Linked DNA regions of Homo sapiens: region 1 is linked to region 2. The links are contacts of gene promoters, found by promoter capture Hi-C in human tissues and cell types (Jung and others, 2019). All regions are on one chromosome and are shown on one strand. Each heading gives the region's core, a stretch centred on a gene start or on the middle of the fragment in contact. The rest is flanking DNA. Distances are from core to core; before and after follow the strand shown. Region 1 has its middle 20 kb from the start of PRSS23. Region 2 holds the start of SYTL2 (synaptotagmin like 2).

Region 1 (5,662 bases), core at 132-2,631, 1.0 Mb after region 2:
TCACTATTCAGCTCTCCTGTTTGCCACTGGCCAGTTGACTTTTTATAGCCAGTGAAAATCCATCCAAGAATCCTGCAGTTTCTTCATGAATTTGTTCTTGTAATGAATTTACGTTGTGTTCAGGCAAGTATCAGATCATTCATTTATGAAACCAACAAGCATGTATTGAGTACCTGTAATGTGCCAGACACTTTTATGAATGATTTACATATATTAATTAATTCACTTCCCACTACAAACCTATGAAGTAGGCATTGATTTTGTATCCATGTCAGAGAGGGGCTAATTGAAGCAAGGTAACTTGCCAAAAACACACAGCTAGAAATGGGATTCATATCTTAGCAGTCTGCCTTGGGAGTTCATGCTCTTATTCTACTAATAGCAAGGTGCCATAAGACTACCGTGAGTGGAGCAACTAACCATGCCTCCAGATTGGGAGTCAGGAGCCTCAGGGAAGGCAAATTCAGAACAAGAGTTGTTTGATCCTTGATGAAGAGGCTTAATCGTTGATTTGATCCTTGTTAGCAACTGATTAGCACATACCAAATTACCTGCAGAGAAGATACACCAGAAAAAAATATGTGCACATATCTGCAAAGCTGTATTACATACCTAAAAACTTTGTATCATCAGTACAAGTATAAAACAAATCATGTGTGATTTGATTCATTTATACATGCTAACCAAATATTTTCAGATTTCCTTTATGCTGTGCCACATCATATGTATCATTAATTGAAATCTATTTTGAATGGCCAACATTCAGAAGTTTCTCGAGTGCCTGGGGTGGGAATCTAAATTTTTAAGACACACTATTGTTTCAACCATTGTTTTTCCTTATAACATGATTCTGATCAATTTGTATTTAGTAAGTGTTTCCGACCATTTAGAAAGACCTTTCCTTTCTAAATCAACACGTAACTTGAAAAAATAAATCAAAATTTTGAAATATCACCTTGTTCTGTAGATTCAGACTAAACGATCTCAGATTTCTTCATGTGTTGGAAAATGTACTTAAAAAAAATCTTTCCCCGAGGCATCTTCTTTGCCAACTGGACTGACTTTTGCTCATTCTTGGATTGCCCCCTAGTGGTTTATTTAACTTATGACTATTTCCCAGATGCTCATCGGCAACTCGTGGTTTCTTTGAATTTGTTTTTAGTTTGATCTTTTCCACACCTTCTCCCATTTGCAGAGAGGGGCTTCCAAAGACAGTGTCTTTGAATGAGGGTGAGCAACGTGCAAAGTGGCACAAACGCTTAGTGTTAATCAATACATGCCATTAATGATGGTGGTGAAATCCTTCTTTCAAGTTTGTTCTCTTTTTTTCTTTGTGCTGTTTTTAACTTTGCCAACTCCTTACTTTCTTCCCTCTGTTAACATCCTACTGGAGTGGTGCCAGGTAATCTGGTGGCACAGGATGACTTACAGGCAATGCTGTGTCTTGAAAATGCCAATTAGGAATGCTGAATGCTGCTGGGCGGGAGTCCCATGCTCTCACCCATATAACAAGTCAGCACTCCATAGGCCTCAGTCAGACCCAGACTTCTTGGCTCCTTTTGGGTAGCTAAGGCTATGACTCGCTGGCCTAGACACTTAAGCATCATCCAAATAGCGAGAAAAACCTTTGAGTTTCTGTAGAAAGCCAGCGAGAGACCCAGACAGCATCACAGACCTGACACTCTGCAGAACTCTGGGTCCAGGCCATCTGCACCAATTAGACCAGAACCAAGAAACGCAGTGCAAGATGCATTATTAATTCAAAACTTTTTTCAATAAGAAAAAAGCCAATTATTGGCTCCATTTTTTTTTAGAGAGAGAACACCTACACTGCTATATATAATTTATTAACTTAGTTTAGTCTCTCAATATTTAGCAAGTTTGTTTAAAAATTACCATTCCCATTGGTTTATAGTGACATGAATATAAACCCATAATTTCAAAGTCAGCATTCCTTTCACTGTGAACATAAGGCTTCTTAAGAGATAGTGGGGGTTGGGGAACAGTAATGACTGTGGCTGGTGGGCACTGTTCAAAGCCAAAAAGACTGGCAGGTTTGGAAAGGCATACACTGTGTATAGACACTCTCTCAGTATACTACTGTTCCCCACACTTTTGCTGTACATTCTTGTCTCAAAATATGGTATAAATTATTCCCTTAAATTTGAAAAAACAATTAAGATGAATACATTTTCATCTTCATTTCACAATAACTCTTTTAAATATAAAAAGTTCCTCATGTTTGTTAAATCTGTTCAAAAGTTGCATTTAAGTACTTTCTTCACAACATGTACAATGTTTTCATCCTTAGTGCCTCATTACAATCAGTTTGGCAATAAGACCTCCAGTGCTTTATCAAAAATGGCATTCAATAGATTATAAGATTGATAAATCTGCATTTGAATCAGTCTTACCACAATGAATTATAACAAAGTCCAAAAAATGTATAACTATTCATCAACACCCTTGGAACCTATGAATTATTGCAAATAATCTCCCACGTGCATGTAATTCAAACATAAACTTTGTGGGGAGGGGGTGTAAAATAAATACTACAGTATTTCTTCAATTTTATTTAATGCTGCCTAGCTGGTTAAATGAAAGATTAATTACTAACAGGAAGAGTCAAAATTTTAAGGACTGTTTTCTAAGAAGGACAATTTTGCAAAACAAAGATAAGCAAGAGCCTATGCAAATACATTTTCTTGTAGTATAATGTAATTGCTAATATGAGGTATAATCTGTAAGCAATTAATACAAATATAAATAAGTATAAGCCACCACTAACTCACAGTCTCATGAAAAGCTTCTCAGCTAAAGTAGTTTGAGGATAAGGTTAAGGGAAATGAGGAGTGGACAGGGCAGGTTTCCAGTGGGAACATCATTTATGTGCCTTATCATTATCATCATCCTGTATGTACCAGTCCATTGTTGCAGAAAGGTAAATCCTTTCCAAGTATGTTATACTTTATGTAGCACAGTAAAATTATTTAAGTATTACTAACGCTTTATTTGCGTTTGTATTTAGATATACACATAATTATATATGCATATCAAAAACTATAAACAGAATTTTAAAACACTTTATCTCATTTGAGGAAAGTTAACAGGTAAGACAAATCTATGTACTATAGAATTTTTGAGGATATCTAAACTCAGGGTGAAACAAAGAAAAACATTTCTACCTCTTTAGTAAAGGGCTTGTGTGAAACCTCAAGCTCTCGCTCAATTTTTTTTATAGATGGGTATGTTTGATGAGGATTGTGATCCAATGATTGTTTAGCAGCAATTTTACCCAACTGTAAATTCTTTTATTAACAGGCATTATAAACAGATAGTACTAATCTTATTCTAAAACCATGAGTGCCACACTGGTGAATATACAGCTTATGAATAACTTAAAAAGTATTTCCCATTTTAAAAGGCAAACCCAGCATACAAAAACTTATACTAAATGAAGAAGCTATAATATGGATACATGATTGATGTGTCTAAAATGATATATACAGTACATAATTAATGTTAATTATGTGATCTGTACATTTTTCCATGATTCCCTTCATGCTTCACTTTCCCCAGAAACTGAAACCTGTACTTCCTCTTCTAAAATTGGTACAATGAGGTTATCCCTGGACATCAAATTATATTTCATCTAATTCATCACAAATTTAGTAATCCGATGACACAAAAATGTTTCCTTTTCATATTCATCAAATATCTACCAATGATGAAAATAAACATGTGAAAATATTCTGTAACTCCTAAGGTATAGTGATCCTAGTTTTGCTACGGATTACTTCTTTATGCTAACCCTGCTGGGAAAACATTGATTGCTCTTCAGAAGACATGCAGCACCATCAAGTATGTGTCTGGTATAGGCTATAGCAGGACACTCTTTCAGAGCTTTATGAGCTGCACAAAGAAAAATCCATTGTTCAGTTGCTGTCATTTGAGTGCAAGTATCTGGATGGCATTCACTCTGAAGTTTGACAACAAGTCCGTTTAGCTCAAGACAGAATTCCCTTAAATGTTCATACTTCCATAACTTTCATCTTGGCCTTCAGCTGGTTCAAGAATTTTGTCAATATTGGAGCAATCTGCTCTTATGTTCTGTTGAATATACTGTTGAACAGCTAGTGTACTGTCTATTTCTTCAAAGTGTTCGTCAGGCCAATTATAAAAATCCTGTGCCCAGCCCGTTCCGCCTCAGCACGCTGCCCCCTCCGCCATGACCATAGTGTCAGCGTCTGGGCCTATTGGCTCGATTTAATAAGTAAGAGTACCAATAATTTTTTAGAAGTAAAATGGATGTATTAAAGGATTTTAAAGAAAAAGCACTTGCTTTTATCTGAATTTTAAAAGGAGAATTGACATTACAGATGAAATAAAGATGAATACAGAAGAGAAGATCCTACTTTAAATGCAAAATAATATCTATAAAATGGGACTAGTAATTTCTTCCTAGAGAGCTTGTGATAACTAGAGATAATGAATATAAAGTGACCAGTGAATTATCAAGCACATAATAGGGGTTCATTTATTTATTCGTTCATTTGGCAAATATTTATTGAGCACCTACTATGCAAGGCATAGTAGGTAAAACTGAAAAACGTGTCTTTGTGAAGTTTACGTGGTAATTTTCCATCCCATATGCCAAAGAGATAACAGGGGAGGAATGACCACCATCTTTTAGAGACTTGTAGTATCATTTAGGAGATGAAATGTTATGTTTTATGTGGCTGTAGAAAGCAAAACTAGAGCCAGGCATGGTGGCTCACGCCTGTAATACCAACACTTTGGGAGGCTGAGGCGGGAGAATGGCTTGAGCTCAGGAGTTTGAGACCAGCCTGGGCCACATAGTGAGACCTCGTCTCAACACAACATCGAAAAATTAGCTGGGTGCAGTGAAGTGTGCCTATAGTCCCAGCTAATCTGGAGGCTGAGGTGGGAGGATAGCTTGAGCCTGGGAGGTCGAGACTGCAGTGAGCTGTGATCACGCCACTGCACTTCAGCCTGGGCGACAAGAGTGTGAACCTGACTAAAAAAAAAAAAAAAAAAAATGCAGAACTAGGACCAGTGGATGATCTTTCAAGGGTGGTGGTTTTCATAATGAAAGGAAAACCCTGTTTACAACCAGGACTGTCCAGGAATGGGATGGGGCCACCTCTGGGAGCAGAGAGACATGGGCTGGAGGTGATTCTGTTAGTGGAAGTATTTTGTAGAGAATTTGAGACCTTGTATCAAGGATCTTTGCAGCGTGGGCAAGGAGGGAATACAAAATCGGTGTTTCCTTCTGCCTCTTAATTCCAAGATGCTGGAACTGGGGTGGGAAGCCAAGCCATTGACCAGAACCAGGGCTACAACTCGGGGGTGAGTGTGGGAGTTTAAATGCAGGATCCACACTGGTTACAGCTGAACTGGAGCCACAGATTCCTGTCACTTTCTGCCTCCAGGGATCAAGTACCATGGGTCTCGACCTGACCAGCCTGAAGGTTTGGGAGGCCCCGTCAGGGGATGGGGGCAAGTTACTTTCCCTAAAAGAATGAAGAGGCTACATCTGGTGACCAGACACAAACATGGAGGCAGAGGGTAATAAGGATGATACATACAATTTATTCAGTTCCTATTTCTTTTACTTTAGTATTCCTAATCTGTAAAAGCA
Region 2 (5,629 bases), core at 2,976-5,475:
GAAGTTGAAACCAAGCCACCTGCCTCCCAGTGCAGGGCCCATTGTTTCCTCAGAGCATCCAGGAGCACGGCGTATGCCTGAGAGCAGTCCTTGAGGCAATGGCTACTGGCACTCACATGCCCCCATGGGTACACTGCCTTTCCAGTGGCTCTCATTGCTTCCTCTTAGCAAGCCTCTGCCTTGCTTAGGGCAAGTCAAGACAGCTCCCAGGAGCTCTGAGACTCCCTGTGTAACTGAACAATTCCCTTGAGTGGCAAGCCTGCTTTCATTCTATAAAATGGGACTATCTTCTGTCCTCTTCTGTTCAGGATTGTGATGAGGATCAATGAGATACTAGCCACCAAGGAAACCTACATTCTTTGAAGAAAACTTGAGTCCCAATAGAGCATTTACATCATGATTAAGTCCTACTAATACCAAGAGTTGGATTCCAGGATTTTATAAAGACTGATAATGTTTTATTGCCTCTATGTTTAAACATTTTTAAAATATTAATAGCATACACACATGCATGCAATCCAAGTAACAAACAATAACACCTGACACTTGATCCTTATAGTGATTCTGGTAAGTGAGGATAGAATTTGTTTATTATCATCAATTTATAAAAGTGGAAACCAGCTCAGAGAAGCCATCTGTCTTGCCCAAGGTCACACAGGTAATAAAATGCAATGCTGGGGCAATGACTTTCTCCAGGACCCTCCTGAATTTTCTGCAAATTACTGTGCAAATTAGTTTTTTAATTTTCTGCTCAAATTTTGCACATCAGCAACACTAAAGAGCTACCTTTTCTGTTATATTTGAGATGTTTAGCAAGAGTACAGCTTGACCCTGCATTTTCAACAGCAGCCCCATGGCCCAGCACTCATCTCTCCCACAAGATAAATACAGGGAAATTATGAGGGGTGAACTTCGGGGCTCACAAACAAGATTAACCTTCATGATGCTTTTAATTATTCATGATTTTTTCTCTACATTCTGTCAAAAACAATCTGAGATGGCTCTTAGCTCTGACAATAATTCAGTCAAAAGGGCTGTATTTGTGTGTGTGTTTTTAAAATTTGTTAATATAGATGCAAAGAAAAAGATTTGGAACGCTATATCCCAAGTTTTGCTTTAATTATTTGAGTATAGATGTATTTATATCATTATTATTATTATTATTATTTGAGATGGAGTCTTGCTCTGTCACCCAGGCTGGAGTACAGTGGCATGATCTCAGCTCACTGCAACCTCCGCCTCCCGGGTTCAAGAGATTCTCCTGCCTTAGCCTCCTGAGCAGCTGGGACTACAGGCGCATGCCACCACGCGCAGCTAAGTTTTGTATTTTTAGTAGAGATGGGGTTTCACTATATTGGCCAGGCTGGTCTCGAACTCCTGACCTTGTGATCCACCTGCCTCGGCCTCCCAAAGTGCTGGGATTCCAGGCATTAGCCACTGCACCCGGCCTGATATTATTATTAATGTTAATCTGGATCTTATATTTTTTTCTACAATGAATATGTTTAGTTTTGGTAATAAGAAAATAAAGGATATTTTTATTTTTAAAACATTCTTCATTCTGAAAAATGGGAAAAAAGTGGATGTCTCCCCAGGGACTAGAGAAGCTCTATTACTGTGAACCAGAGAGTGGAAAATTCAAACAGTAGTCTAAGCCCTCTAGAACCTTGGTCCTACTTCTCCATCTGGGTACTCGAAGCCCCTAAGAATATATAACAATCTGCCAGGACACCAGTTTTATTCAGATATTTTGAAGAAAAAACTTTATATTTTTAAATCAAAGTCCATATATTATGAAATCAAATGAAAAAAATTGCATAAGCACAGGAGCATGTGTTGGTCTTCTTTTCCATTGCAGGATCTTCTATGGAAAAGTTTGGTAAGCCCTAAGACAAACATTATAATCTTATCCCCCCAACTTTTGAGAGAGTGACAACCTCATTAATACCAAGTAAGTTTTCCTCTTAATTTAAAAAAAAAAAAAGCCACATTTTTCTTCATCTACTGTATGTTTAAAAATTCTTTGTAAAACAGGTGACAAGCAAACATATTTCCAGGGAGCTCTGGAAGCCTATACAGGCACAGTTCACCCTACCTCCCTTGCCCAAAGAGGAGAAACACCTAGACTAGCATCTGGGTTTTGAAGATGGTGGAACCTGGGCTTCCCCTAGGCTGCCTCACATTTCTACAAGGCAGCAGACCACTCTGCACAAGGTGCTAATTCATTCATTCCACAAATGTTTATTGAGCAAAACCTGAAAAAGGCCTCTTAGGGGACAGTGGAATCATTCACCAGCCAACGGTTAGGGCTAACGGGTCAGATGTGGACAATCAATCTTTCATTAGACCCCAAACCACCTCTAGGATAAAGCAAACAGGGCCCTGCCCCACCCACGCACTAGCAGCTGGGCAGGATTAGGGTAGGCCTTCTAGAACAGTACTGCTGCTGAGAGGCTAAGGCAGTCACAGATTACCTCCAGAATAACGGAAACTCCTGCACCATAAATGACATAATAGCTCTAAGATGTTTTGCATAGTGCCTGACACCTGGTGAGAACACAATGTTAGACATTTTTGCTCTCCTTATTCCAGCTTGCTCTTACTTAAGGAGCACAAAGACAGTGTAAAGAACACAGGTTTTAGAATCAGAGATTGGATTTGAATTCCAGCTATGCTACTTCCTAGCTAAGTGACTAAAGGAAGCAATCTTTCTGAGCCTGTTTCTCACCTATAAAATAGGGTATAGTACATCACCCCTCATGTGGCTTTGTGAGAATTAAGGATATATTACATACAAAGAAGTGTCTGGCCCATAGTAAGTGCCCACTAAACAGCAGTCAACATTGCCCTGCTGCCGTCCCCACACCTCTTCTCCTTCCTAGCTGCTCTTGATGGGTTCTGCAATCTGATTTCACCTGGATACCACACTAAGGGTGAGAAGGGGCAGAACTTCAGGGGTGGAGGAAAGTGAGGGAAGGGAAATGCTGGAGACCTTCCATAGAAATCCAGCCAAGTCCTCAGCTCCTTTCAATCATCCTACTCTATCTGGCTGCTCCATCCAGCAGACAGCAGGGGTCACCATCCTGGTGGGGAATGGCTGCCAACAAGGGGACGGGAAGCTGGATGGCAGTTTGCATCCACCCCACCTTCCAGGGTCTATCTGTCTGAAGCCCCACCGGGCTTCCTCTGCACATCCCTGCCGGGCTGTGTGGCTCAGGGGGCTGACAGGGTGATTCATAGCCTGTTCTTATCTAGGCTTCTATCTCAACCCTGCGCCCAAAGCCCTGGAGGCTGCTGGTCACAAACCAGCACTAAATGAAAAGAAGAACTTTTCATTAAGGCAGGAAGTGGAGCCCCTCAAGGTCAAAGGGGATTTATAAAGAGAGGAGGAAAGAAAGGGAAGACGCGGCAGGATGGGTGCAGAGAAAGAGAGACCCACTTCCTATATGCTGGTGGAGCCCTGTGTCTTAGACGCTAAAAACAGTCGCTTTTCCACTTCAAAGGATGATAAAGCCCACTCGTGTAGTTTATAGCTCGCCGTGGGACGAGGTGTGGGTATGGAAGAGAATTCCAAAACACGTCTTATTTTCAAAGGAGAAATCATCATCCCCTGGCCGGCCCTTCCCAACACCCCACCTGTAAACAGGTGCTGACGCTCCTACCTTTCTGCACCTGAGCAATCTGGGGGCAGTTACTCTGCAGCCAGGTCTCCCCAGCACCCAGCCCCAAGCCCAGGTCAGTCCCTGAAAGCCCTAGAAAACGCGATAGCTCAGCAGAACCCTCGCCTACCCGGGCATCCCAGCTTCCTGGCCGCCTGGGCAGCGGAGGTGGCTCTGGAGTAGGTGGGAAACTGAGGAAAGGAGCTTTCCCCGTGCCAAAACGCAGTTCCCATTTTAGAACTGGTTAGACTAAGGAACAACATTCTACACCACCTCCCTCACTTAACAGAGGAGGAAGCAGAGACCAAGAGAGGGAAACAAAGTTGCCCGAGGTAACACAGCGAGTGGGCCAAGTAGAGACTGGAACCCGAGTGCGCACCTCCGAGTCGCTGCCGGGCAGGGAGCGCGCCTCGCCGTCTCTCTTGTCTTCTGGCCCCCAGCCCTCGGCCTGGCGGTGCAAACCGCGCAGCCCCGGGCGCGGCGCGTTACCTTCCCCCGGGCAAGGCGTTGCGAGCCTTCACTCTCCCGACGGACGCTGGCGGCACGGCCCGGGTGTCGCCCGGCACTGTCAACGCAGAGCGGCGTGCGCGAGTCCCTCCCCGCTACCCCCGCCCCCGGCGGGCGGTGCGGTGGGGCCGGTCCCGGGTGCTCGGGCCAATGGCGCTTCGCCCGCTCCCCGCCCCGGCCCGCCCCGGCCTCCTCGCCCGGCACACAGCGCCTGCCAGCCCCTGCCCTCTCCCCTTCCCTCCCTTCGCCCTCCGCCCCCGCCTGCTGCTTCTCTCCGGTTCCTAGCCTCCTTCTCAAGTGTACCTTGCCCCGAAACAACCTGTTTTCTGTGCAAATAAAGCAGCACTGTTGTTATTGTTATTATTATTTTTATCACGGCGCGTTAGGGGGCCTTGGAGCCCGAGAGTGTGGAGCACTAGGAGCCTCTGCACTCCGAGAAGGGACAGCCACCGCGCAGGGAAAGGGGCGCGGAGGGTATGGAGCCCGGTCATGGGGTAACTTGCTTTAACCCTCGGGACGTCAATTTCCTCACATGTGAAATAGAAGAAGGGGGGAAAAAAGTTGTTGAGAGGACTAAATGAAGTGATGCTTTAAAATACAATAATACCTAGAGAAAGGTGAGGGCGTCATGCACTGCCTGAGCTACTTACTGGGGTATGCACAGAGGACTGGTAAGCTCCTGGAAGACGCTGTGTGGCAGGGAGGCAGACAATGCAATACAGTAAATACAATATTGTGGTCGGGCGCGGTGGCTCACACCTGTAATCCCAGCATTATGGGAGGCCGAGGCAGGTGGATAACCCGAGGTCAGGAGTTCGGGACCAGCCCGGCCAACATAGCAAAACTCTGTTCTAATTAGAAAAGAAAAAAGAAAAATTAGCTGGGTGTGGTGGCGAGCGCCCGTAGTCCCAACTACTTAGGAAGCTGAGGCAGGAGAATCGCTTTAACCCGAGAGGTGGAGGCTGCCGTGAGCCAAGATCGCACCACTGCACCCCATCCTGGGTGACAGAGCAAGACTCTGTCTCAAAAAAATAAATAAAATAATTTAAAAATTGTATCACGACCTATTTTTTACAAGTTACCCATGATGGGGCCAGCCCAGGCAAACCTCTGAAGGAGATGAACCTTAAAGCCTTTTTCCTTATCATTTCCTGGACTAGTGTTGTCCATTTAACTGAGGGTGGCCCAGGTCTGCCTTTGGTTCTTCCAAAGGTCTTCCTTCTCCCAAACTTACAAATACTTATCCCCAAGGGCTTCAGTTAGTGCCCAGTGCAGGCTGCTAGCCTGGCCCAAGAGTCCTGGCACTGTGCAGAGATGTGTATTCTGGCTTCCTTCAGCCTTTGAGAGCCTGGTGTGTCCCTGTGCTGGGTGAGCATGCCACATGCAAAAGAGGAATAAGCCACTGGTCTTGCCTTTGAAGAAACAAATTTGTAAATAATTTCATTTTAGGGTAAGTGTTATAA

Evidence for each region. The method cuts DNA at HindIII sites, captures the fragments that hold promoters and counts their contacts. A contact is called where the count stands out against the background at its distance.
Region 1: a fragment that was not itself captured here is called in contact with the fragment with the promoter of SYTL2 in region 2 in 1 of the 25 tissues and cell types used here (hippocampus).

What each region holds. Positions count from the first base shown.
Region 1 is chr11:86,817,581-86,823,242 of GRCh38, forward strand. It overlaps a transcript of PRSS23 not described here and the pseudogene MOB4P2. Among named protein-coding and RNA genes, the nearest start is that of PRSS23, 20 kb to the left of the region's middle. RefSeq lists a silencer at 947-1,241. The HindIII fragment of the contact is 9,327 bases long and covers 1-5,662 here.
Region 2 is chr11:85,806,916-85,812,544 of GRCh38, forward strand. SYTL2 (synaptotagmin like 2) reads right to left here and starts at 4,226. Exons shown (of 20, transcript NM_206927.4): 1 at 4,039-4,226. RefSeq lists a silencer at 4,185-4,364. The HindIII fragment of the contact is 9,754 bases long and covers 1-5,629 here.